Regions from separate parts of the Homo sapiens genome. Here all the other regions are linked to region 1. Evidence: promoter capture Hi-C in 16 types of primary human blood cells and fetal thymus (Javierre and others, 2016). All regions are on one chromosome and are shown on one strand. Each heading gives the region's core, a stretch centred on a gene start or on the middle of the fragment in contact. The rest is flanking DNA. Distances are from core to core; before and after follow the strand shown.

The links. The method cuts DNA at HindIII sites, captures the fragments that hold promoters and counts their contacts. A CHiCAGO score of 5 or more calls a contact.
Region 2: a contact is called between a fragment that was not itself captured here and the fragment with the promoter of C1orf53 in region 1, in 2 of 17 cell types (M1 macrophages and M0 macrophages). The highest score is 6.5, in M1 macrophages.
Region 3: a fragment that was not itself captured here is called in contact with the fragment with the promoter of C1orf53 in region 1 in 1 of 17 cell types (M1 macrophages); the score reaches 6.0 in M1 macrophages.

Annotation. Positions count from the first base shown.
Region 1 is chr1:197,900,968-197,904,064 of GRCh38, reverse strand. It overlaps C1orf53 (chromosome 1 open reading frame 53), which reads right to left and starts at 1,435. Exons shown (of 3, transcript NM_001024594.3): 1 at 1,152-1,435. The coding sequence starts at 1,415. RefSeq lists silencers at 981-1,230, 1,401-1,550. The HindIII fragment of the contact is 7,446 bases long and covers 1-3,097 here.
Region 2 is chr1:197,689,305-197,692,788 of GRCh38, reverse strand. All of the region lies in intron 3 of DENND1B (DENN domain containing 1B), which reads left to right. It also overlaps the pseudogene EEF1A1P32. Among named protein-coding and RNA genes, the nearest start is that of DENND1B, 84 kb to the left of the region's middle. The HindIII fragment of the contact is 2,029 bases long and covers 612-2,640 here.
Region 3 is chr1:197,661,757-197,665,025 of GRCh38, reverse strand. The region is part of intron 5 of DENND1B (DENN domain containing 1B); the gene reads left to right. Among named protein-coding and RNA genes, the nearest start is that of DENND1B, 110 kb to the left of the region's middle. The HindIII fragment of the contact is 1,919 bases long and covers 964-2,882 here.

The sequences.
Region 1 (3,097 bases), core at 186-2,685:
ACTGATGAAACAAATGTGAATTTCCCGAGTGAGAAAAAGTTCCTTTCCTTCCCTAGACTGATTGAAAATTTCTTCACATGATACTGGTGTTTGCTCTAAGGAGAATGACACTTTTCTTTAATATCCACCATATCTATATTGCGAAGTATGAGAACAAATTATATACATTATTTTTAAAAGGAGAGCATAAACAAGAACAATCAAAAGCTGCCAGTCACTTCCTAATGAGTCTTTATTCAGTTTCAGCACTTGAATGGGTCAGACCGACAGTGGATTCTCAGGGCCTACTAACTGTCATTATTTAAATAAGTCAATTTTAGGCAACCTCCGGGATTTTCTTCTCTACCCCTTTGGCTCAAGTCATACCATATAATATTAGTCCCATCAAGTACTGGAGGCACACACACATAGCTTATTAAATGGGTTCATTTCATACTGCTTTTCTATCTTTATTATAGTCAGTTTCTCTTTTTTTCTCACTGTTTCTTTTGTAAAGGTAACCATGCTGCCTTTAAACTCACGCAGACTGTGTTAGAAGGCGTAAAGGGAGAGAAGTTTAGATACTGGTACTAACAGACAATTGTCAAATCCGCAAAACAGGAGAAAACAGCTGAGTGTCTACAAATGCCAGATTGTAGTTCCCTCTGCTCCGTTAAGAGTTAAGAGAAAGGACAAGAAGGCAATGGAAAAATTAAAATAAATGTGTCAATGTCTTTTTTTCTCACTCTAAGAATCACTGGATTGCTAAGTGTTCAACTGACAATGCAGAAAAACACACAACACATTTTTGTTGTGACTTCTCAGTCCCTCCACCTTCTCCATCAATTCCTTAACACCCCCTTCCGCAACACACACACACATACACCACAAAAGAGTGGTAGTGGGTCCCACACTGCGACCGGAGTTTAGCTCGGACGCTGATCGGAAAACAAATCACACTCATACTCAAGACAGACACAGGTTTCCCGCGAAAATGTCGGGGCTGGAAGTTCGTGTGCGTGCGCGAATGTCGCCCGAGGCAGGACCGCACCGGTATCCAGCAACCTTTGCCTCTGCCGGGCGGCCTCCGGGTCCGGAGAGGCCCGGGATGCGCAGGCGCGCCGAGCCCGGGGCGGCCGCGGCGGGGCGGGGCGGGCAGGAGGGAGTCTCACCGCGCAGGCGGCAGCGTGCAGCTCCGCGATCTGTCGCTCCGCCGCGGTTAACTCTTCGCTCACCGAAGGCCTCGCCGCTCTCTCCGGCCTACCGGGCGTGCTGGGCGCGGAGCCGCCGCAGTTTCCCTCGTTAGCAGGGCAGAGGGTTAAGCTGAGCTGCTGTCGGAACCCAGCTCTTACCCAGAGAGGTGCTGGCGGCGGGGCGGCGGAAGGTTGCCTGCAGAGCGCGGCACCCGTCCGTGCCCAGATCTGCCTGGCCGCCATGCCGCCGCCGGCCTTGGGAGGCGGAGCACCCGGCGCTGGGGCCCGGAGGGGCGACCAACGCGGGCCTGGGCGCGGCGAGCCGGTCTTGGGCAGCTCGTGGCCATCGCTGCGTGGGGTCGGTTCGCGCTGCCGTGGCAGCAGGTGGAGGCGGACGGACTGAGCCTTCTGCCTTCACCAGCGGGCCCGCTGCGGAAATAAAATGGGCTTTTAAGGCAGCTAACGAGGCTCTGATGAGCTGCCTGGACGGGGAAGAGCCTGGTGTTTCCACATCTTTGGACTTAAATTCTAAGCTCTTCCTTCTTCCCCCGCGCCCACCCAGCTGAAAGGTGGACATTTTTTGTTATGTCAGACTGGACTTGGGATCATTCAGTATAATCTCCACAACTGTTAAGATCCCAGAAAGTGATCAAAAGACCCGAGGTTTGTGAATAACCACCTTGGGCCTATCCAGAAAAGGCTGAGTGTTTCCAGGTAGTATGTGATAGGAATAAAGGTGGAAGCGGAGCCTTCTTTGCTTGGTTCTTTGGCCCACCCTAGAATAAGGGCCAAAAGTAAAATCGCACACTGAATAAGAAAAGGTGTTGTGTTCATGTTGCTGAATATTTACAAAATCCAACCTAAAACTATTATCTCCTTTCTGATGGATGAAAGTGATCTTGATACCGTCACATAATTGTATTTGAGAAAATTACGGCAAGCCCGGGAAGTAATTTCAGGTGTTAGGATTAAATTAACACCACCCCATCTTCCTACCCCCCGTCTGGGTTTCAAGAAAAGGAGGGCTGAAGAGTACCAATTTTGTTAGTGCTCTTCAATACTGGGAGGGCAGGAATTGATCTTTGAGGACAAAAGTAGATTATTCAGTTGTACAGGAGAAAGGCGACTAAGCCACTATAGACCATCACTACGTGTTTTTTGGTTTCTGTGTTTACCATGCAACCCTGTAGTCATATTTTCATTTTCTTAAATCTTAGTAGGAGGTGATTGAAACAACCCTATTGGTTCATTAAAAATCTCAGTGAATTAATAAATTGGTATTATATTTTGCAAATTGATTTTCTTTTTGTTGGAATAAAAAATTAGGATCTGGAGACTGTTAAGTAATCTGAGGAGAGTTTAAAATCTGGAAAGCGAAGGAGGGACCCTAGAGAAAGCTGTGGAAGAGTGGGACCAAACATGAGATCACCAAAAATGAACAACTGTGATGTTATTCACATTCACCATAAGTCAGGTCCCCGCACCAACAAAAACCTGAGATTGATTTACTGCATTGTCTTTAAAATTAAGGATCAGGATCCACTAATAGGCCATGACATCGATTCAAAGGGTAGAGACAGCATTTTACAGGAATGAAATAGACTAGACCAGATTTAAATAGAAAATAAATGGAACTATCTTATATAGATACATATCTTATATAGATACATATGTACAAGAGTACATATTGTTACATGAAACTTCTTTTGGTGAAGATGAGAGGGTGGAAGTGGACTGTACAGGGCTTGAACAACAGAGATCTTGTAGGTAACAGAATAATTCTGTATCTTGACTATGATGATTACAAAAATTTACATGTGATAAGATGCCATGGAGCTATACATACATTGTTTTAATGTCAAATCCCTGGTTTTCATATTGTAAGCATGTAAGGTGTAAGCATTGGGGGAACCTGGGTGAAGTAA
Region 2 (3,484 bases), core at 377-2,876, 210 kb after region 1:
AAATCCATACTGAAAAATATAATTTGATAATCATACCCTATGACCCTTGTAAATATTTTGGTTTTTAAGAGGTAAACAATATATTTCACTTCCTCCTTTTGATATAACCAGCTAGGATTATTTAATATGTTTTGCATTGCAAATTGTAATAGTCTGAAGTTTTACATGATTGTCTGTGGAGTTATTATTTATAGGATATGGGGCATTAAGGAGGAAGATTAACATCAGATAACTCCAATTTGAGCCATAGGGAATGGAAGAAGTAACAAAATATTAAATTAAGCACAAGAACTTGTTCAAATAACTGCTAATTTCATGTGGTTGGAGTGTGGGATTTATGGAACTTGATACTGAGGCTACAAAGGTAGTTTGGTCAGATTATGAAGAACTTTGTATACTATGCTAACTGCTTTGGCATTGACTAATAGGAAATAACCATAAAATGGTATATATTTAGGAGGCTTCCACATCACATCTATATTTTAAAGAGGTAACTTTAGATTTAGGTGCTTTGAATTGGATAAAAGGAGCCTGTTGGAGACATAGAGACTAGTTAGAAGGCTACGGTAATTGTTTAGTAGAACTGTTGAGAACCTCAACTAGAGAAAGCTTAAAGAGAAAGTGGGAAAGGGAATGGATTTGAGATTTTTTTTTTTTTATTGTGGAGGCACAGATACATGAGATCTACTCTATAAACAAATTGTTAAGTTTATGGTACAGTATTGTTAACTATAAGCACAGTGTTGTATATCAGACCTCTAGAACTTATTCATGTTATATAACTGAACTTTGTACCTGTTGAACAGCAACTTGCCATTTCTCTCTACTCACGGACCCTGGCTGGCAACCAGCATTCTACTTTCTGCTTCTGTGAGTTTGACTATTTTTGATGTCTCATTTAAGTGGAATCATGCAGTATTTGTCTTTTTGAGACTGGCTTATTTCACTTAGTGTAATGTTCTCCAGATTCATTCATGTTGTGGCAAATGACAGGATTTTCTTTCTTTTTTTAAGGCTGAGTAATTTTCCATTGTATGTATATAACACATTTTCACTATCCATTCATCTGTTGATGGACATGTAGGATGTTTCCACATCTTTGCTATTCTGAGTAATGCTACAGAGAACATGGAAGAGCAAATATCCCTTTATGATCCTGATTTCAGTTATTTTGGATAAATACCCAGGAGTGGGAATGCTGGATCATGTGGTAGTTCTATTTTTAATTTTTTGGGAAACTGTTTTCCATAGCTGCTGTAGCATTTGATATTCCCACCAACAGTATACAAGGGTGCCAATTTTCTACACTCTCTCCAACACTTATCTTTGTTTGTTTGTTTATTTGGTTGTTGATAATGGGCATTCTCACAGGTGTGAAATGATATCCAACTGTGATTTGCATTTCCTTCATAATTAGTGATGTTGAGCATGTTTTCATATAACTCTTAGCCATTCGTATGACTTCTTTGGAGAAATGTCTGTTTAAGTCCTTTGATCAATTTTTGATCAGGTCTTTTTTTTTTTTTTTGCTGTTAAGTTATAGGAGTTCCTTATATGCTTTGGATAGTAACCCTTTATCATATGTATGGTTTGCAAATATTTTCTTAGATGTTATAGGTTGCCTTTCACTCTTCAGGATGTTTTCTTTGAGGTGCAGAAGATTTTTAGTTTGATGTAATTCCACTTGTCTATTTTTGCCTTAGTTGCCTGTGCATATGTTTATAAACATCCGTATCATATATCCATGATTGGTGTTGTAGCCAAGAAATTATTGCGAAGACCAATGTCATGAAAGTTTTTCCATGTTTTCTTCTAAGAGCTTTACACTTTTCACGTCTTATGTTTAAGTCTATTTTTTTCATTAAAATATATTTTAATGGGTTTCAAAGTTCTATGACAGATTTTTTTTTGGTCAGGTTATTTCCATTAAGAAGTAATTATTTTAAAGACTAACAACTTAAGAACTCTCACACAAAAAAAACCCAAAAATGTTCCATAAAATGTTCTCCTTTCCTTCGGAAGGTTTTATAATGCATTGCTATCATTAATCAGTTTTTTACTATTAAACTTAAAATGGCCTATTCAGGCAAATACTTCTGGGACTGTTCTTCAACCACTGAATAAAACTAGGGTGCAGGTATTAGGGATAATATTCATTTAGCCTCCTGAACTTTCCAGGCAGACTTGCTGACCTTCCCAACTCTAGCAGCCCTCTTGTCCACTGCTTTGAAGACACCCACAGCAACTGTCTGTCTCATATTATGAACAGTAAAATGACCAAGAGGGAGATGGTCAGAGAAGCTCTCAACACTCCAGCAACCATCTGAACGATGGCAGCATCACTAGATTTCAAGAATTTAGGGTCACCTTCCAGCTTCTTACCAGAGTGGCAATCAATCTTGCTTCAATCAAGCAAACTTGCAAGCAACATAAGCTGTGTGACAGTCAAGTATAGGAGGATAACCAGAACCTATTTGGCCTGGTTGGCTCAAGATAATCATGTGAGCAGTGCAGTCAGCTGCTTCCATTGGTGAGTCATTTTTGCTGTCACCAGCAACATTGCCATGACGAGTATCTTTGACAGACACATTCTTGACATCGAAGCCCACATTATCCTTAGGAAGAGCTTCACTCAAAGCTTTTTGGTGCATTTCAACAGACTCTACTTCAGTTGTAGTGTTAACTGGTGCAAAAGTAGACCACATGCTGGGTTTGAGAATAGCAGTCTCCACTAGCCCCAAAGGGACAATGCCAATATCACCAATTTGTAGACATCAGGTAGGGGCAGACACAAGAGCTTGTCAACTGAATGAATTGATGGTAGGATGCAATTCAGAGCTTTAAGCAGCATGGTTTCACTGGTATCGCCATCTTTACAGGTGTCTTTCCATCTCTTGAGCCAAGGTATGTTAGCACTTGACTCCAGCATATTGTCACCATTCTAACATTGATGGCAGGGACTGTTTCTTGTTCACTGCTGCACCTCAGTGCCAAGCATAGTGCCTGGTAGGTAATAGACTCCTTAAGTTTTGTTGAATTAATAAAGGATGGATTAAAATAAAAAAGAAATTGGCACAAATGCTACTGTAGCAGGTCCGTAGCCAGTTTTCTTAATATGGGTGCTGATTTCCTTAATGATTTTCTCATATCTCTTCTGGCTGTAGGGTGACTCGGTGGAATCTGTTTTGTTAACATGAACAGTTGGTTGTTTTACAATCAATGTGGAAGCCAGAGGGATATGCTCATGAGTCTGCTCATTCTTGGAGATACCAAGTTCAGATTCATCAGCACCAGCAGCAACAGTAAGGATAGCACAGTCAATTTGATATTGACATGATTTGTCTCTGTGTCTCCACCCAAATCTCATCTTGAGTTGTACCTCCCATAATTCCCACATGTTGTGGGAGGGACCTGGTGAGAGATAATTGAATTGTGGGGGCAGTCTCCCCCATACTGTGTTCATGGTAGTGAGTAAGTCTCACGA
Region 3 (3,269 bases), core at 674-3,173, 240 kb after region 1:
GTTTGTATTTAGAATTGTTTCATATGCTAGCAAAAATGCAAGAAATAACTTTTTAACCTAATTTGATTAACATAATTTTATAACTATAAAATTGTCGCCAAGGGTTCAAAATGAAATACTCCAATAAGGAAGACAGATTTATGTTTAGGGCCTTTGTAGTTCCCCCTCCCCCCTTTAACTCATTCCAAACCTAAAGCTTTCACACTCTTCCTTTGGGCAAATCCCTTAGAAGCAGAATGTTTCAATTTTACACATTTTGTGTCAATTTTCCAGACAGAAAAACAGCCTCTAGACATTAGATGTTTTCCTACGGAAAGGCAGTTTCCTTAGTTTTATTTGATTACTATAAGTTAGGTTCCTGCTGATTGCTTAGACTTTAGTGGTTACCTGACTATTTGACAAAAAACATTTCCTTTCCTTTATTTAACCTTTGACTTTTGAATGTAAAAGTTTTATCAGCTCTATAGTGGAAGTAGAAGTGTGGGGGAAGTCTTCTTACTACCACAAAATGGACTCATGACTTTATGTATATCTCTCTCTTTTGCCTTATGTCTTTACAGAAAATTAAGGAAATGATCTTACAATTAAATTTTAACTAATCTCCTGTACTTTGTTTTAAAATAATTGCTCATAATGTTTTACATTTATATATGTTGGCAAGAGTGCGAGAGTCACAGTTATTCTTTGTTCAATTTTAAAAATTCAAGTGAAGTGTCTTATTCACTTGTTACAATATGTCGAGTAATTTTTTTTAACTTCCTAGGATTTTTGTGGTCTGTTGTAAGAATACAGACTTTGACTGTCTTTGGGACTGTAAAATTTAGTGAAAAACATTTTAACATTTTACCTTATTGATAATCAGTTTAAAATTAGTTGCTTTGAGCATGTATCGTTTGAAAATTCCCTAAGAAACCACAAAATAAAGACTTGAAAATAACATTTCTTACTCTAGCAACATAAGCTTATATAATTTACAGTATTTTTTATCTCTCTCTCTGTGTGTGTGTGTGTGTGTATGTGTGTGTTTCAAAAGTTTTCTTTTTAAAAATGATGTTGTTTTTGCCATATATTTAGACTTAAAGTGTACTTAGAGTATAGTTAAAATTGGAATTACTGGACTACTTTGTATACCCTGGATCATTTTCTTGTCAGATAAGAAAGTGAGTAGTCGGTAGGATTTCCTGTTGAGCAGTTGCTTCTTATCAGGAGTTGTGAATTCAATTACCTATGTAGACCAGGTAAGGGGCTCAAATGAGAGAAACCTGTTAGGTGCCTAACAATAGGAAGTTGGGGTAAGTACGGTGATCTGAATAGTACATGCCACACTCAAAGACAGAAGCCACAACTCAGCCCTAGGAATTTGTTGCACAGTGAAAAATGTGTGGCCAGTATTACCAGTTCTTTTGACTTTTAAGAGAAACAAGAAGTCTGGATTTTTACAGTGAATTATATCAGATTTGGAAGTTGGCAACTTATTTAATTAAACAACAGTACAGTGTTGACCAAACAAAATATGCCCTTAGGATAGAAGCAGCCTGCAAATAGCCAGTTAGCACTGTTTGCTGTAGATGCTTGTTTATTTACAACAGAAAATGTCCTTGCTTTCTTGACGTTTCTAGGAGCAATGGCTACGTTATAGAGTAGTTCCACTTTTATATGTGATGTTTTTATTTAAAAAATGAATGATATGTACTCTTTAAAAGGAGAAAGTTATCACTGAGAGCCAGTACATGTTTACAAAGAGAGCATTGTTTATAACTAGGCTTGGTTTATTATGGTGATAGTACATACTGATGTAACAGGGAGTGCTGTAGTTGAAATTTGAGTCTGTTCTAATATTTCACAAACAAATTATGTGCAGAGAAAAGTGTTGGTTAGATGATACAATTATGAGTCTTTTGATTAGGTTAAAATTTCATACTTAGAATGTTGATAAATAATTGGTGTTATTTTGGGAGGCATCTTGAAGACTTTTGCAGGCCATATCCTTTTCAAAATTTTTATCCACAGTGATGAACACAGAAGCAATACCAAACTTAAAATTGGAAGGGTTTACCAAAATGTTACTTTAAAGAATCACATTGAATAGACCTTTATTTGTTGGGAAATTTGCCCCTATGAACAAACTATAATTTAAAAGTCATAAAGGTAATGCTCTGAATGTTAAATAAACAAATGAATTTTAGAAGATAGAATTTGCTTCAGTGGATAGGACATATAGGCAGGCTGTTTTAAGATTACAACAGAATGATTTTTGTCTCAGTTCATTTAGCTGCCTGAAATGCCTGGTCATTGAACATGTTTATTAAAAGGCTCACTGTACATTAGCAGATATACTTAAAGTAAATGACAAGTTAATGGGTGCAGCACACCAACATGGCACATGTATACACACACATGTAACAAACCTGCACATTGTGCACGTGTACCCTAGAACTTAAAGTATATATTTTTTAAAAAAGGCTCGCTATATAGAAATACACGCCAAGATAGGGTGATAGACTGTCTGTGGTAGACCCCTGAGCATATATTACTCAGGTTGATTAGGGTTCTAATCCCAAGATTGCCATTCCATAGCTTTGTGACCCTAGATAAGTTGCTTTATCTTAGTCAAGTATGTATCAAAGCATTAGTGTAAGAATTAAATGAGATAATACATATAAGTATCCAATGTACTGTCATTCATATAGTTACTCCTTAAGTAATTTTACTTCCTGCACTTCCAATTGTTTTAACACATAAATTCTATGATTCTTAGATTCTGCTCTCAACCCCTAGATGGACGTATAACTAACTAGTGAGTTATACTCCCCAAATAGAAATAATAAAGTATTTTGGGGCCTTAGAGATGACTATGAGAAATATCCCATAAGGGTAAAGCTTATTTCTAAACAGTGTTAGTTTAATTTATAGATGAAGTCATAGTTTGATTTATAGATGAAGTCATAGCCTGGTACCAGGATGAAATTCAATAAAGCTTATTATCTTGGACATGTAAAAAACAGTAATAATTACGTAGATACCAAAATGCCTAGCACAAATAAAAACTGTTTAAATTTTTAAAAGTAACTTAAATATGGATATATTAATTATTTATTCAAAGACAAGGATATAGTCTTACAGATAAATTATATTTATCTGTATAAATTAGCTTCTTAATGAAAAATCTGATTCTGATGTGCCTTTGCAATTTGAAAGGAAATTAAAAGGGGAAGATAACCAGTGAAAAACAATAATATAAAGTTCAGAAAACCAGAACATTGAAAGAA